Regions from separate parts of the Homo sapiens genome. Here regions 1 and 3 are each linked to region 2. The links are contacts of gene promoters, found by promoter capture Hi-C in blood cells and fetal thymus (Javierre and others, 2016). All regions are on one chromosome and are shown on one strand. Each heading gives the region's core, a stretch centred on a gene start or on the middle of the fragment in contact. The rest is flanking DNA. Distances are from core to core; before and after follow the strand shown. Region 1 holds the start of C16orf46 (chromosome 16 open reading frame 46). Region 2 holds the start of PSMD7 (proteasome 26S subunit, non-ATPase 7). Region 3 holds the start of HSBP1 (heat shock factor binding protein 1).

Region 1 (3,922 bases), core at 1,130-3,629, 6.8 Mb after region 2:
TTCTTTCAAACTATCCCATTCAGAAAAGCGTTCTGGATTGCCCGTTCGAATTCCTCCCCGTCCTCCGTCTACCCACCCTTAAAGGGTTCCGCTCCCAACGGATCCTCCTCAGGCCCCGCCCCTCCCCAGACCCCGCCCGCTCTGGGGAAGCCCCGGCACATAGTGCCTCTGCCTTTCGCTCCCTCTCGCTTCCTTTCGAACGAGGCAGGGACTCTCGCTCTGTCGCCTTTGGAGTGGTCCCGGGCCTTGCCCCAGGGGTGGAGAAATGGCCGCTCACACCTACCTGTGGGGCCAAGCGGATGGAAGGCCCCGAGACAGCTAGTCCCGGCCTACTGGCAAGAGCTACTCAGGTCGCTGCCGGATGGGCCGTTGCCTTGGGTTACGACCACGCTGGGGGCGGGACCGCGGCGGAAGTGACGTAGCCCAACAAAGCCTAGCACTGGCGAGGCGGTTCGTGGCATCTCCTATCCGCTCCGGGCGCTGCCGCCGGAAGGGCCAGCGACGGAGGGTCTCAGATGGCGGGGCTTGAGGCCCACCCGGGCTCTCGGGTCGGCGAGTCCCGTTGGGGAGCCCTTGTGCCTGCTAGGATATTTAGCAGATGCCAGGCGGCCAGAAACGTCCTCACTTTTCTCCCTCGGCCCTCTGGGGAACCGCCGTGAGCGTTTCCCACGGACACAAACTTAACAGGCCCAGAACGTCCAGGGAGGACGCGTTGTGAGCCTCAAAGAGCCCACTTACGTGACCGACAGCACCAGGCCGACGGGCACTCGCTGAACTGCTGGCCCGGAGCAGCACAGCTCTTAAGTGGGCAGTGGCATCTTTTATACAAATAAAGGAAGGTGGCCCCACGTCCCTAAAACAACAGCTTGCTGAAGAGAGATCGCAAAGCATCCCCCACTCCAGCTCGGGTCTGACTCCAAAGCCCTTCTGCTTTAGAAAGTGTGACTATTTCTGCTGTAGAAAACCGGTATCTAGGCCAGGCGCGGTGGCTCACGCCTGTAATCCCAGCACTTGGGAGGCCGAGGTGGGTGTATCACCTGAGATCAGGAGTTCGAAACTAGCCTGGTCAACATGGCGAAACCGTGTCTCTACTAAAAATACAAAAATTCGCCGGGTGTGGTGGCGGGCGCCTGTAATCTCAGCTATTTGGGAAACTGAGGCAGGAGACTGGCTCGAACCCGGGTGGCGGAGGTTGCAGTGAGCTGTGATGGCACCACTGCACTCCAGCCTGGAGAGCAAAACTCAAGTCTCAAAAAAAATTTTGGTATCTAAGTTCTCTAGCACTGTGATTGCTCCAATGAGACGGATTCAGCTATAATTCTATTCCAACTTTTTTCATACGTGTAAGCTTAGGTACCTTGTTCACATAAATAGGAAGATGCAAATAAAAGGGGTTTTATTGTATCTCAAGCTAGTAAGTATTAACCAAAAACATTTAAATGTTTTATCAGTTGACAATTTGTTTTGGTCTTCCTTCAGATCTATTGAAAACAGCTGGGCACCGTGGCTCACACCTGGAATCCCAGCTGAGGCAGGAGGCTCCCTTGAGCCCAGGAGTTGAAGGTTGCAGTAAGCTATGATTGTGTCACTGCACTCCAGCCTGGGAAACAGTGCAAGACCTTGCATATTAGAAAAAAGTTTCTGGGAAGTATACCAAAAGTCTTAACTAAGATTTGCTAAATGAATATTAATTAAATAACCTAACGGCAAGTACATGGGGAAGTTGGAGGATCTAGAACCTGACTTCCTTCACACTAACTATTCCTGCATTTAGCAGGTAAAAGCCCGATAGCATGATTGAGTGGAAACATGAAGGGACAAGGGTTTGGCTAGTTATGTTTATAAAAAGTCAACATAGGAATTGAGTCAAGATACCAGAAACTCTACTTATAGTAAGATCCCACTTTGCAAAAACGGAGAATGGAAGCGTACAGAACTGTACCTTCTCCTCAATTTTGCTGTGACTGTAAACTTCCTCTAACACATAAAATGTATTTTAAAGAAAAAAAGCCAGGAGTGGTGGCTTGCGTCTGTAATACCAGTTACTCACAGGAGAGGCTAAGGCAGGAGAATCACTTGAGACCAGCTTGGGAAGTGTCACAAGACCCCATATCTATTTTTTAAAATTAAAGGGAGATGGGTGGGTGCGGTGGCTCACACCTGTAATCCCAGCACTTTGGGAGGCTGAGGCGGGTCAATCACTTGAGGTCAGAAGTTCAAGACCAGCCCAGCCAACATGGCGAAACCCCATTTCAAAACCCTAATACAAAAATTAGCCGGGTGTGGTGATGGACGCCTGTAATCCCAGCTACTCAGGAGGCTGAGGTGGGAGAATCACCTGAACCCGTGAGGTGGAGGTTGCAGTGAGCCAAGATCGCACCATTGCACTCCAGCCTGGGCGGCAGGAAAGGCCTGTTGCAGGGAAGAAAGAGGAATTTAATCCTGGTGTAAAGAAAGGCACCTCTTTAAGTATGGGAAGGAAGGTGTGATTTGGTCTGAAAGAACACAGTAAAAAAGACACGCTTGTAGTTAGCATAATTTTTTAAACTGTGCTCTTTTTAGTAGCCCCAGAAAAACTATAGAAATTGGAAAAATTCAGCAGCTGGGCGCGGTGGCTCACGCCTGTAATCCCAGCACTTTGGGAGGCCGAGGCGGATGGATCACGAGGTCAGGAGATCGAGACCATCCTGGCTAACTCAGTGAAAGGCCGTCTCTACTAAAAATGCAAAAAATTAGCCGGGCGAGGTGGCAGGCGCCTGTAGTCCCAGCTACTCGGGAGGCTGAGGCAGGAGAATGGCGTGAACCCGGGAGGCGGAGCTTGCAGTGAGCCGAGATCGCGCCACTGCACTCCAGCCTGGGCGACAGAGCCAGACTCCATCTCAAAAAAAAAAAAAAAAAAAAAAAAAGAAAAAGAAAAGAAATTGAAAAAATTCAGAAATTCTGATTTGCTGAGGAACTGATCTGAATGGCCAGCCTCATTTTCATAGTAGTATGCCCATGCAGAGCTCCCTAGTGGTTTATTAAAACCTAAAACTGGCCAGGCGCGGTGGCTCACACCTGTAATCCCAGCACTTTGGGAGGCCGAGGCGGGTGGATCATCTGAGGTCAGGAGTTTGAGACCAGCCTGGCCAACATGTCGAAACCCCATCTTTACTAAAAATACAAAAATTAGCTGGGCATGGTCGTGGTCCGGGTGCCTGTATTCCCAGCTACCCTGGAGGCTGAGGCAGGAGAATTGCCTGAATCCGGGAGGTGGAGGGCCTGGGCAAAAGAGCGAGACTCCGTCTCAAACAAAACAAAAAACAAAACAAAACCTAAAGCTAACGACAAAACTACCTGGGAGGTGATAGCAGAAAAAAAATTTAACACTTGCAGGGTAACCTATTCAGTTTCTCAAGTTTTAGTTACTAGAAAGCTTTCTTCAAAACTTCTATTAATCTGCTCTACTAATGCCAAAACCATTCAAAAGGAATATGAGGTCATGAAAATTAAATTCCCTGGATTCAGTCAATTTGGAGGGCCATTCAAAGCCTGTATTTTTGGCAGCACTGTGACATCAATGACAGTGGATTTGGCTCTGTGTTCTAAATAGTGGAAGAGCAAGTTGCCAAATGTTCTGCTCTTTGAAAAAAGAGGGGTTGTTACAGAGCAAGTTATGTGTGTCTTTGGCAGGAAAAGGGAAAAATAAAAAACTGCCCACCTTCTTCAGAGACTATAACCACTCACGGACTTTCATACTCTAGAATGGCCACTTTTGCTTCCCACCTTTATTTAGAACATTCAACCTCCCCCTCTTCCCTGAGATTCCCATTAAAAATTTTTTTTTTTTTTTTTGAGACGGAGTCTCGCTCTGTTGCCCAGGCTGGAGTGCATGGCATCATCTTGGCTCACTGCAGGCTCCGCATGTGGGGTTCATGCCATT
Region 2 (3,989 bases), core at 1,490-3,989:
CAGGTGATTTTAATTTATTTCAATTAATTAATTATTTGTGACAAGGTCCTACTGTTCGGAAGGGTCATGAACTCCTGGGCTCAAGTGATCCTCCAACCTCAGCCTTCCAAGTATCTGGGATTACAGGCACAGGCCACCATGCCCAGCTCTATATTCATTTTTATTTATCTGAATAGTGTCATTTTTCCACAATGATCATGTGTAACTAGAATAATTTTTTAAGCTCATAGTCAGTTTCACACTGCTTCAGTGAGTCAGGATTGGAGACACCCAATAAGCTTCGAAACAGCTTGCTTAGGCTTAGTACAACTGCAAAGTGAACTCAGTGTGAAATAAAATATATCACTTTCTAAAGTTTGAAATTTAGTATCTTAATAAAATTAATGCAATTCTTTTGCCTAAGACTGCTGCAAGCAGGCACACCAACCAATTAGGAACTGGGGTCACAGAAACCTGGCTTGATCCTGACCAGCAATGTGATCTTGGAAAGATCCTTCCCAATGTCTGAGCCTTATTGTCATCTTCCATTTCACTATCATAACTAATTATTCATTTATATAGTAATTACTGAATGTCTCCTATGTGCCAGGCACTTTTCAAGACAATGATAATATAAAAGTAAACTAGGGGCCAGGTGCAGTGGCTCACACCTATAATCCCAGCACTTTGGGAAGCCAAGGCAGGCAGATCACTTGAGTTCAGGAGTTCCAGATAAGCCTGGCCAACACAGTGAAACTCCATCTCTACTAAAAATAGAAAAATTAGTGGGGCATGGTGGCGCTCACCTGTAGTCCCAGCTACTTGGGAGGCTGAGGTATGAGAATCGCTTGAACCTGGGAGGTGAAGGTTGCAGTGAGCCAAGATTGTGCCACTGCATTCCGGACTGGGTGACAGAGCGAGACTGTCTCTCATTTATTTAAAAAAAAAAAAAAAAGTAAACAGGAGTTTACAAACTAAACAAGAGCTTACATTCTAATGAGAGACAAAGAATGAACAGAATAAGTAAATTCTACAAACTATTCACAAGTGGTAAAAACTATGGAGAAAACTAAAGCAGAAACACATTAGGGGGAGAAAGACAAAATTTTTTCAAAGCGTGAGAAAAAGCCCACCTCGAGAGCAACATTTGAGCAACAATTTTCATTTGTAATGAGAAAATACCGACTTCGTAAGGTTGTTACAAGCCTTGTTAACACAGCATGGGCCTCACCTGAAAGCTTGTTAGAAGCTCAGAATTTCAGGTCCCATCTCAGACCTACAGAATCAGAATCTGAATTTTAACAAGGTCCCCTGGTGATTTGTAAGCATATCAAAGTTTGAGAAGCATTAATTAAAAGGATTAAATATTTGCGTCTGAACCAGGGCTGGCATATTATAGGCACTCAATAGATTCAATAATTCTTAGTTTTCTTTCCCCATTAACATAACCCTTATATCTTTCTAGTTATAATTAAGAATGAATGGCCAGGCACAGTAGCTCACACCTGTAATCCCAGCAGTTTGGGAGGCTGAGGTGGGAGGATTGCTTGAGGCTGGGGGTTTAAGACCAGCTTGGACAACATAGTGAGACACCAACTGTACCAAAAAAAAAAATGAAAAAATAAAGATAGCATTGAGTCTCTTCAATTAATTATGAATATTAAGCATATCCTGCCATTTACTTCCTTGCAGATCTAGCAGAAAATCTGAAAATAAAGCCAAGTTGCAGACAGAAGACAAAGATAAATTCACATGCAGACAAATTCAAACTCCTGACTACATTAATGTCTCTCATTGGTGGCCAAATTTCAGTCTAATCTTTGCTAATGTTTTTCACCACCCACAAATAAGAGAGACTGAGTGTGTCCCTTGACATTTGGAGATCAGGAAGTCCACCTTAAAAAGACAAGAGGCCAAAATGTTGGGAAAATCCTCTGGTGATAAAGGGAAAGCAAAAATTGTTTAAAAACAGAACAAAATATAAGTAAATAATTCAGGTTGCTTAAGTACTGTTTTCGTTTACAGAAACAGCAACTTCAAATGAGACGATATAAACCTGTATGATTTTTCTTATAATTTGCCTCCTGCAAATAAGCTTAAGTCTTTGTCTACCTTAGTCTTCTCTTTCCTAGCTACATATCACAACATACTTCCTTACTGCCTTCCTTCCGTCTTTTCTTCAACGCTTCTGTAAATTTTGATTTCAAAAGCAACGGCACAATTGCGTTCTTCTAGCCCTAGTTACGCAGTAATATAACGACAGGTGGAAACCTGCAGGTTGCCACGTTCATTGCAAAGTGTCCACAGTAAAGATAAAGGAGAAATTCCCCCGGCAATGAAAACGAGAATGAGATAAATTACCAAATTACATTAAAAGCGTGCTCTTATGTTAGAGATTTAAAGTTCCTCTCAGAAATCGCGGAGGATTTTGACCTGAAGCAAAAGTGAACTTCTTCCGGGTGGTAGAAAAGTAAACTGTCAACTATTTACTTTGGGGGGGTGGCGGGGGGAGGGTGCTGGGAAGGAATTGAGGCGAAAAGCCTCTGCAGGTGACGGTACAGGCCAATACCAGGAGGTCAAGTCGCCGGTGTCCCTTCGGCCCTTAAGTCCAGGGAAACGCACGGCGAGGGACGAGGGGCGATTCCCGCCTTTCTCCAGCCCTTTCTCCGCCCACAAATGACGGCGGTGGCGAAGATCCGGGCCCGCCGCGCGAGGCACTCTGGGAGCGGAAGAAGGAGGCCGCGCGAGGGCTGACGAACCGGAAGAAGAGGAACTGGGCCTGAAAGGGTACCGGTGACCGCTACTGCTGCCGGTGTTTGCGTGTGGCAGGGAGCCAGGCCTGGCGAGCGGGGTGTGTCGCGATGCCGGAGCTGGCAGTGCAGAAGGTGGTGGTCCACCCCCTGGTGCTGCTCAGTGTGGTGGATCATTTCAACCGGTGAGCGAGCGCCCTATAGCTGGGCCGGCGGCGCAGCCGCTGCTGAGTCACGGGCACGCTGGAGATGGCGCGGCGGCCGCGGACGAGCTGGGGACGCAGATAGGGCGGCTGGTGACCCTTACTTGTTCACGAGTCCAGACCAGCGTCGGCTCACGATGCCGGAGTCATCCAGCCTCCCGCCCCTGCCCCAGCCGCCGCCACTTCGGGGCCTTGGCTGCCTGTTCCGTTTAGCCTGTTTGTTTTACAGAGTTCCCTTTCCGAGTTCGTTTTGCCGAAGTTCGTTTTACCGAAATCTGGATGATGCTGGGGGTCGGGAGATGCGGCTAGCTTTAGTTGGCCCTGACCCCCGCCCCCAAGCTCGTGTCTGTCACTTCGTTTTGAAGTTCGTTTTGCCGAAATCTGGATAAAGCCAGGGTGGGGCGGAGGCGGGCTAGCTTCATTTGGCTCTGACCCCCGACCCCAGGGTCGTATCTTCATTTGACTCAGTTGATTTCACTGAAATGTGAATAATGCAAAGTGACTGATGTCTGGATGATGCTTGGGTGGGGCGGAGTGGGCTAGCTCCATTTAGCCCCGCCCCAAGGCTATGTTTATCTTCGTTTGACCGAATTGGTTTCACCGAAATATGGATGATGCTGGAGTGGGGTGCAGGGTGGCTACCTTCATTTGGCCCTGACCCCGGCCCCAGGGTCGTATTTATGTTTATCCTCGTTTAACCAAGTTGATTTCACCGAAATGTGAATGATGCAAAGTGAATGATGCCTGGATGATGCCGGAGTGGGGCTAAGGGGGCTAGCTTCAATTTGGCCCTGACCCCCGCCCCCAGGGTCGTATCTATGTTTGTCTTCATTTGACCGAGTTCCTGTTATCGAAATCTGGATGATGCTCAGCACCCCGAAGGGCTTCCTGGATCAGCTGTGGTTTTAACCCATTAACATTTTTAAATGGGAATCTGATTAGACTCCGTCTCAAAAAAAAAAATGTATATATAGATGAGGTTTCAGTTTTTATTTAAAACACGAGGCCGAGCATGGTGGCTCACGCCTGTAATCCCAGCATTTTGGGAGGCTGAGAC
Region 3 (3,542 bases), core at 881-3,380, 9.5 Mb after region 2:
TTACGATTAGCTGGGCATGGTGGTGCTCACCTGTAATCCCAGCTACTCAGGAGGCTGAGGCAGGAGAATCGCTTGAACCGGGGAGGCGGAGGTTGCAGTGAGTCGACATGGTGCCACTGCACTCCAGCCTAGGCAACACAGCAAGACTCCATCTCAAAAAAAAAAAAAAAAAAAAAAAAGTCTTTTAAGAAAACTGAGATACTGGCATCTAGTAGGTAGAAGTCAGAGATGCTGCCCAACGTCCTACAATATACAGGGTGCCCCCTCCACCACCAACAATAAAGAACGACTTGACTCAAATGCCAGTATTGCAGCTCTTGAGAAACTCTGCTCTAAGCTCAAAAAACTCAGAGAATTCTAGAATGGTGAGAAAAAAGGAGAAGATGCAGAGTCAGGAAGTCCTGCGTCTCTTACTTCCTTAATTTGATGACCTTGTTCCAGTTTCTTAACGCCTCTGCATCTGTTTTCTCAAAAATGTAAAATTATGATAATTATATCACAGGGTCTTCTGAGGATTAACTTAAAACACTGAGATATTTTTATTTCAAGTAGTCGGGTAAAGCACTAGCCAAATACCAGTTGACAACAGCCAATTACAAAAAAGTTGTGTATACTTACACAGAAAGGAAGATCTCTCTATAGGAAAGGATGAGGTGTGAAGGGTGAGGGGCAAAGGTGTGAGTGAGGGGGAAGGGGTGGTAAAGGGAGTTGAAGTCTCATGCCTCAAGGCCAACTGGATTCCGGGTTTGTTAGAGACACTGGTGGGTCTGGCAGAGGCGTTTGAACAAGAGCAACTCCATCTCGAATAGGAGCTGGGTAAACTGAGGCTGAGAACTACTGGGCTGCATTCCCAGACAGTTAAAGGATTCTAAGTCACAGGATGGGATAGGAGGTCAGCACAAGGTACAGGTCATAAAGACCTTGCTGATAAAACAGCTTGCGGTAAAGAAGCCGGCCAAAACCCACCAAAACCAAGATGGCAATAAGAGTGAACCCTGCTTGTCTTCATTGCTACACTCCCATTACCGCTATGACAGTTTACAAATGCCATGGCAACGTCAAGAAGTTACGCTATATAGTCTAAAAAGGGGAGGCATGAATCACCCACCCCTGGTTTAGCATATAATCAAGAAATAACTATAAAAATGAGCAACCAGCAGCCCTCAGGGCTCTGTCTATGGAGTAACCATTCTTTTATTCCTTCATTTTCTTAAACTTGCTTTCACTTTACAGACTCGCCCTGAATTCTTTCTTGCATGAGATCCAAGAACCCCCTCTCTTGGGGTCTGGATCAGGACCCTTTCCCGTAACAGCTCTAACACCTTACAGCCTCTCCCTAGCTAAAGTCAAACTGGAGCTGACCCCTCACATAGCACAGTCCTTAAATGAGATGTGTGAAAGTTTCCAGAACATGCCAGGCCCGCAGTCAAGGACTCTCCTATCCCCTTGCCATGAGACCCAATCCTAAAGACCACCTGTGGGGTTGGAACTTGAGGTTCCAAATCAGCAGTGCCCACCTCCTTCAACACCCAAACCCACAGTCTAACCCTGATGCCGGAAGCCTTCCCCACTCAACAGCAGGCATTGCGTGGAGTGAAAGAAGCCAGGCATGATGGACAGCTTCCTGTCTGAATCCCCTCATATGAACCTGACGGGCACAATGAACCTACTGGGCTAAACTCCAGACGCTGGCCACCTTCATAGGGTGGAGATGACAGAACAGGACAGGAGCCATGGGGCTCCCGGGGCGGGTAGGGGTGGGTCATGTTCCTTGGCTTGGGGGCAGTTACAAGGGTACAGTGGGGCTTGTTGAAGGGCAAAAGTTCTGTAAGTTCGTCCCGACAGGCCAAAGAAACCCCAGAGCCGTCTTTCGACTGACTACAGCCTGGAAGAGAGGCCAAGACCACTCCCTGCCTCTATTGCTCCATTTCTGAGTTGGTCTCACTTTCCACCCCACTGACGGCGCGCTGCGTGAGGGGCGGGGCATAGAGGGAGGGGAGGGGCTATGCGAAAGAAGGCGGGGAGAGTGGGGTGGGGCCGCTCCTTGGAACGGAAGCGCGCGGCCTCGAGGCCCTTCCGGTGCGGGAGAAACTACTACTCCCATAATGCCCCGCGGTCCCGCGAGCTGCCAGTCTCGTCGCGAGAAGCAGCGGCCCGGGGCGACTGAGCGGACAAACGGAAGTGTAGGTTACGGTCTGAGACATCACCGCCAAGCTGGGCATCGGGGAGATGGCCGAGACTGACCCCAAGACCGTGCAGGACCTCACCTCGGTGGTAAGGGACGGCTGTGAGGGCCGGAGGCCGCGGCCTTCCCGGGCGGCGCCGGGCCAAGCCCTGCTGGACAGAGGCGCGCCCACCGCGGCCGCGCGTGGCGTCTGCCGAGGCCCCGTTTCTGGAAGCGTCTCTGGCCGAGGCTCCCGGCCACCTTGACCCCCGGGGCGCTCGGTGCGGGCCAGTCTCCCCGCGGGCGCCCCCAAGCCCGACCCCTTCCAGTAGCCCCATTCATCTGTCGCGAACGCCCTCCGGGTCCCTCCCGCCTACCTCTGACACCCTCCCCGCCCTTCAACTCCTCACACACCCCCGGGTGCCCCAGCCCGGCAGAAACAACCTAAAGACCCTGAGCTTTGAGTCGCAGCGGCCTCCCCAGCCCAGCAGTCTAATTGGACAGGTTGGAAAACGGAAGCCCAGAGAAGGAAGATCTTGCTGAAGGCCGCACAGCTGTCCAGAGGCAGAAATGGGGCTGGAACCCCGGGACCAGGGCTTGCGTCCTGATCCCAGGAAGTTGTCTCAGGATCGATGTGGACCGTGTTTGTTTGTTTCGGTTTTTCTTAGGTGCAGACACTCCTGCAGCAGATGCAAGATAAATTTCAGACCATGTCTGACCAGATCATTGGGAGAAATATCCTTTTTATCTGCAGTCGGCCTCCTGTGGGCCTTTGGAGCCTATTTGCCGGGCAGTGGTGGGGATAAATGAGTAGTTTTCAGGCTAGCTTCAGCCATTCACTTGTAGAATTTGAGCTTGGATTGTACTGTGTTTCTGAGAAGGACTGCGCCGAGAGCTAGGGGCAAAGCTGAGTTAGACTCCTGGCTCAAGGAGCATACGTCTACCAATCCTAATAGCTGGTGTGGTGGACCATGCACTGTGAACTAAGCGCTTTTGTGTGTGTCTTTTGATGCTCAGCATGACCTTATGAGTGGGTTGTAGTGTTATCATCTTTAGCAAATGAATAAATTGAGGTTTAGGGGTTCCATCACTAGTAAGGGTCAGGGCTGGAATCCGATGCGGGGTAGCCATGCCCCACAGTCCTGTACTCTTACCCACCAGCGTGTAACAGTGTCGAAAGAAAATTGGAAGACCAGTTTCCCTAAAGTCGTTGTGTTTAAGGCTGTAGTCTGCAGGGACGGGAGGAAAAAGGCTCAATGAGATGTTGGCACGCGTTGTCTTTAACTTCAGCACTTGATGATATGAGTAGTCGCATTGATGATCTGGAAAAGAATATCGCGGACCTCATGACACAGGCTGGGGTGGAAGAACTGGAAAG

Evidence for each region. Contacts are between HindIII fragments. The CHiCAGO score rates a contact against its expected background, and 5 or more counts as called.
Region 1: a fragment that was not itself captured here is called in contact with the fragment with the promoter of PSMD7 in region 2 in 4 of 17 cell types (monocytes, naive CD8 T cells, naive CD4 T cells and 1 more); the score reaches 7.9 in monocytes.
Region 3: the fragment with the promoter of HSBP1 here is called in contact with the fragment with the promoter of PSMD7 in region 2 in 4 of 17 cell types (naive CD8 T cells, naive CD4 T cells, total CD4 T cells and 1 more); the score reaches 7.4 in naive CD8 T cells.

What each region holds. Positions count from the first base shown.
Region 1 is chr16:81,076,853-81,080,774 of GRCh38, forward strand. C16orf46 (chromosome 16 open reading frame 46) reads right to left here and starts at 386. Exons shown (of 4, transcript NM_152337.3): 1 at 284-386. RefSeq lists enhancers at 1-57, 149-809, 648-697, 810-1,468. The HindIII fragment of the contact is 2,067 bases long and covers 1,347-3,413 here.
Region 2 is chr16:74,294,075-74,298,063 of GRCh38, forward strand. PSMD7 (proteasome 26S subunit, non-ATPase 7) reads left to right here and starts at 2,740. Exons shown (of 7, transcript NM_002811.5): 1 at 2,740-2,914. The coding sequence starts at 2,841. RefSeq lists enhancers at 1,973-2,864, 2,655-2,964, 2,865-3,754. The HindIII fragment of the contact is 3,645 bases long and covers 2,073-3,989 here.
Region 3 is chr16:83,805,848-83,809,389 of GRCh38, forward strand. HSBP1 (heat shock factor binding protein 1) reads left to right here and starts at 2,131. Exons shown (of 4, transcript NM_001537.4): 1 at 2,131-2,274; 2 at 2,833-2,899; 3 at 3,458-3,542. The coding sequence starts at 2,230. RefSeq lists an enhancer at 1,925-2,426 and silencers at 2,084-2,260, 2,278-2,567. The HindIII fragment of the contact is 4,790 bases long and covers 1-3,542 here.